2 separate regions of the Homo sapiens genome follow, and region 2 is linked to region 1. The links are contacts of gene promoters, found by promoter capture Hi-C in blood cells and fetal thymus (Javierre and others, 2016). All regions are on one chromosome and are shown on one strand. The core of a region is centred on a gene start or on the middle of the fragment in contact, and the rest is flanking DNA. Distances in the headings are between cores, read along the strand shown.

Region 1 (2,511 bases), core at 4-2,503:
AAAAAAAAAAAGTGTCAAGTAATGGTCATCTACGTCAAGTTCTTAGTTTTCGCTGCCCTTAAATAAAATTTGTTTGAGCTTTAGGCACAATTTATCATAATTAAATCCATCTCTTTGGTTGGTTGTTTTTTGTTTTGTTAGGGTTTTTTGTTTTGTTTTCTTGAGACAGGGTCTCCCTCTGTCGCCCAGGCTGAAGCGCACTGGCACAATCATGGCTCACTGAGATCCTGCTTCCTAGCCTCAAGCGATTCTCCCGCCTCAGCATCCCGAGTAGCTGGGACTACAGTTGCGTGTCCCCAGCTGTTTTTCTTTTTTTGTAGACGGAGTGTCATCATTTTTGCCCGGGCTAGTCTCAAACTCCTGGGCTCAAGCGATCAGCCCGCCTCGGCCCCCCAAGTGCTGGAACTACAGGTGCACGCCACCACGCCGGCTTCTCTGTGTTTAATGAATGTTTCTTTTCTCTCTGTTACAACATTCCGGCAGTGACTACTTATAAATAATTTTTGAAAACCGGTCTCTTCAGAAAGAAAATGCTATTGTCGGTACAGTTGCTGTCTACGTTGTGAATATTACAAACCTGAGACTAAAACAAGGAAGGGACTCAGAGAATTGAGGACTTTGACATCTCTTGCGCGGTTACCCTTGCAGTGAAAACCTGAGCTTTGAGCTGGAAACGCCCACTTTCTGTAAGTTAGAGAAAAACTGAGTCTAGTTCGCAGGCAAGAATTACACTGTTTTTCTCCCTAATTTTTTATTTTTGAAGGGAGAGCAAATCAACAAATGAAATCCCCAAGTACTTGTCAACGAGAACTATTCAATACCATGCATTCTTCTCTTTGCCTACTTTTCTGCCCCTTCCCCCCAAAAGAGATGAAATAGTCCTGGAGCCAAAACCACAAGAGTGGAGACTTGCTCTGAATGTTTCTCAAGTAAGTTGAAAAACACCGCGTTCCGAGGAAGGAGTATTTTCTAGGCAGCACACTGGTGAGGGAAAGAGGCGGGTAAAAATACAGGAGCCCCAAAAGCCACTTCCAAGCCAACTCACACCCTCAGCGCCCGGCAGTTAGGCTGAGCCCAGACTCTGACCCACCGTGAGGGCACAGCGGGGCGGGGACGGCAGGATCCAAAGGAAGCACCACCTCCATTCCCGAGCTTCCCCGGCACCCTGCGCTGCCCTCTGCCTCCACGGCTTCAAACCCATTCCTGGAGGCCGCCATCTTCCCGCCGCCGTCCCGAAAGCCTCAGTACGAAACAAGAATGCTGAGAAAGAGCGCCCCCGCGACCCAAAGCGACCCACAGCGCCCCCAGGCGCTTAGGAGGAGCTTGGGCGGGGGCTGCCGCGGCGGAGGCCACGCCCCGAAACGCAGTCCCCGCCCACCTGGGGGCTGCACCTAAGCGGCCCCTAGCGGTGGGGCTCGCAGGTCACTTGCGGGACCTGTGCCATGAGCTCAGCGCATGAAGCACCCTCCTTTCTTAAGAATATAGCCAGGAAGTGAGATGATTCGAACAAAGACTTGGTTGTATTGTAGGTCCAAAAGGCAGCATTACCACCTCTGCCAAATAGCTGAAATGGCTGCAGCAGCTGTGATTTAAGGATCATTCTTTGTTTTTCAAAGTCACAGTCACTGCATCATCCTCTGTAACTTTTGGACAATGCTGAAAGTTGCACATCATAGTTGCATACTCATTGACATTTATACATAAGAAAGAAAGAAAACCGTCCTGATTTGCAGATGACATGATTGTCCACATTTTAAAAATCCGAAAGAATCTATCAGGAAAACACCTCCGGTTTAAACTGAGTTCAGCAAGGTTGCAGGATATGAGATAAACACACAAACATCAACTGGATTTCTAAATACTAGCAATGATCACAAGAACACTAAAAAATAGAATACCACTTACAATCACTCAAATAAATGAAATAGGTGTAAATCTAACGAAATATGTACAGAGCTTTATGTATGCTAAAAACTCCAAAATGCTTGATTAAAAAAAATCAAGGCTGAGTGCAGTGGCTCACACCTGTAATCCCAGCACTTTGGGGGGCCAAGGAGGGAGGATTGCTTGAATCCAGGAGTTCGAAACCAGCCCGGGCAACAAAGCGAGACGACATCTCTAAAATAAATAAGCAATTTTTAAAGTTTTTTAAAAATCAAAGAATAGCCGGGCACGGTGGCTCACGCCTATAATCCCAGAATTTTGGGAGGCCAAGGCAGGTGGATCACAAGGTCAGGAGATCGAGACCATCCTGGCTAACACCGTGAAACCCCGTCTCTACTAAAAATACTAAAAATACAAAAACAAAAAAATTAGCCAGGCGTGGTGGCGGGCACCTGTAGTCCCAGCTACTCGGGAGGCTGAGGCAGGAGAATGGCGTGAACCCGGAAGGCGGAGCTTGCAGTGAGCCGAGATTGTGCCACTGCACTCCAGCCTGGGTGACAGAGTGAGACTCCGTCTTAAAAAAAAAAAAAAAAAATCAAAGAATAAACAAATGCAGAAACATACTGC
Region 2 (2,511 bases), core at 5-2,504, 7.8 Mb after region 1:
TGGAACTCTAGCTATTGAAGACCTGTGTTCAAATTCCCACTCTTCCAGACAAGTGTCTGTGACTCTCATGCCTCAGCTTTCTAATCTGCATAGGATTATCGTGTGGAGTAAAGTGAAATAGCACAGGCAGATCACTTAGCGCAGTGCCTTGGATATAAGGAGCACTAAATAGATGGTGCTCTCCTCTCCATCCAGCCTCCTAGCAGTTCTATTTCTGATAATGAAGCTTCTGACAACAAAATGTGCTGCTGGCTGCATCCTCTTCTCTAGTGACATATTTCTGCATGCTTTACCTGGCACAAGTTTACTGAACAAACATCTGTGTCTGCTGTGTACAAGGTTATATGTGGATGGGAAGTGACACAAAGATGTATGTAATACAGGGTTCTGCTATCAAGAAGGTTATGAGAGTGTTAGAGCTCTGGTTCTCTATCAGTGATGAATTTGCCCCTAGGAGACAACTGTTAAATCTGGAGATATTTTTGATTCTTATGAGTGAGGGGTAGGGGTTTGCTATTGATTTCTAGTATATGCAGGCCAGGGATGCTGTAAATATCCTACAGTACCCAGGGCAGCACCTGTCACAAATAATTATCTGGCCCAAAATGTCAGTAGTGCTGTAGATGAGAGGCTCTGTGTTAAAGATACAGGCCATGGGCAGAAATAACTAATATACAAGGGAGAAAATGCCAGGATCTGTGTCTGGCGATGGGTGGCATATAGTAAAAGGGCCATTTGGATTAATGGGTATAAATTTACGGTTAGATAGAAGAAATAAGACCTAGTGTGGTTTGTCTCGTCTCGGCGGTGGACTTTCAGCTCCTTGAGCGGAGCGACCTCTTCTGTTTTTTTGGCAGGTGGGAATACTTAAATCTCTATTTTGATGCACAATTAAAAATAAAAAATTGCCAAAACAGTGGTCGAAAATTGTACTATACTATATTTTACATGCTTACACTTCACAAATTAATGCTCGTAAAACACCCGCTCTCCACCCTCCTCGCCCTTAGCCCGGCTCGCTGCACGCCCCGAGGCCCAGCACTTGCTGGCGGGTGGGAGGAGGGGCTTCGCCGATGTCCCCGTCCCAGGGGCAGGGCCTGGCCGAAGTTACAGTCCCTCCGGGTGGCGGGGCGCCCCGAGCGTGGCAGCGCGCTAGGCGGCAGCAGCGGGCGCGGAGCGGGGCGCGGCCGCCGCGCGTTCCCTCTTGGCGGGGTTGGCCGGCCGGGGCGGGGCGCGGCGCTCCGGCTCGAGGCATTCGGAGCTGCGGGAGCCGGGCTGGCAGGAGCAGGATGGCGGCGGCGGCGGCTGCAGGCGAGGCGCGCCGGGTGCTGGTGTACGGCGGCAGGGGCGCTCTGGGTTCTCGATGCGTGCAGGCTTTTCGGGCCCGCAACTGGGTAATGCTGCGGGCTGGGGCTGCTGGGTCTCCGCGGGGGTGGCCGGGGGCTTTCGTGTGGAACCCGGCGGGGGGCAGTCTAGAGGAAGGTGGGGGCCCCTGTGCACCCCCTGACTCGTGTTGCTTGCACGTGCGCGCACAGGTCTACGCGTCTATTCCTGTTTCCGAGTGCGTGCGCACGCCAGTCCCAGGGCGCTGGGCCTTTGCTGTGCAAGGAGGTGCTCCGTGGGCCTCCGCCAGACCCAAAAAGTCCGGCGTGACTCGGGAGAGAATTCCAAAGGGGAGGAACGGGAGCAGGGGTGAGAGGACGGAGAGAGAGTGTAGAAGGAAGGCTCTAGAATGAGACAGCCCAGTCCCGGTTACTAGTCATGAGACCGCGTATTGATTACCTAACGCCGTAGGACCTCGGTTTCCCCATTTGTACAACGGAGATTCTGACAGTGAGAGTTGGGACGATTAGATGAGATAATTGGTGTCGTTGCACATAAATTACCTGACGCCTGGTAAAAACTGTTTAAATGCTGTCTATTAATGTTACTATTACTACCCACCCCTGTTCTTTTAGCCCCATTGGATCTGACAGTTTGAAGGCTCAGCACGGAAAAACGCTGACGGCTTCTTTGCTCTGCAAAGACTATTTCAACTACTTTGCATAGTCAGGTGTCAATTTCCAGGAGGCGGCAAGTCGGAGCAGAGCTGATACATGGCCAAAGACCCTTGACCTCAGCCGCTCAGCAGGCCTCAGCAATTTCCCGGTGGAGACACTGCCAGCGGCAGCGTTCTGGGAGCTTAGTTAGCAGCAGCAGCACAGCAGCCTGGGCAAGAGTTCCCCTGGGACCAGAAAAAGGCTTTCAGGATTTTCTTTAAAAAAAAACTATCTAATTTTTATAGATGAAGGGGGCAAAAGTACAGTTTAGTTACATGGATATGTTGTGTAGTGGTGAAGTCTGGGCTTTTAGTGTAACCATCACCCAAATAGTGTACATTTACCAAGGTTTTCTTGTTGCTCAGAATCTGGTACAGGAATATGCTTCTGAAGAATTCAGTCACACCACTCCCTTCCTGCCACCCATCTGCTCAGTGCTTGGGGACACTGATGAGGGCGCTTTCCCAGGTCT

Evidence for each region. The method cuts DNA at HindIII sites, captures the fragments that hold promoters and counts their contacts. A CHiCAGO score of 5 or more calls a contact.
Region 2: the fragment with the promoter of QDPR here is called in contact with the fragment with the promoter of ZCCHC4 in region 1 in 1 of 17 cell types (non-activated CD4 T cells); the score reaches 7.9 in non-activated CD4 T cells.

What each region holds. Positions count from the first base shown.
Region 1 is chr4:25,311,516-25,314,026 of GRCh38, reverse strand. It overlaps ZCCHC4 (zinc finger CCHC-type containing 4), which reads right to left and starts at 1,253. Exons shown (of 13, transcript NM_024936.3): 1 at 1,091-1,253. The coding sequence starts at 1,217. RefSeq lists enhancers at 1,135-1,194, 723-1,599 and silencers at 1,193-1,397, 1,405-1,474. The HindIII fragment of the contact is 7,197 bases long and covers 1-2,511 here.
Region 2 is chr4:17,510,833-17,513,343 of GRCh38, reverse strand. It overlaps QDPR (quinoid dihydropteridine reductase), which reads left to right and starts at 1,254. Exons shown (of 7, transcript NM_000320.3): 1 at 1,254-1,394. The coding sequence starts at 1,290. RefSeq lists a silencer at 1,046-1,625. The HindIII fragment of the contact is 4,464 bases long and covers 229-2,511 here.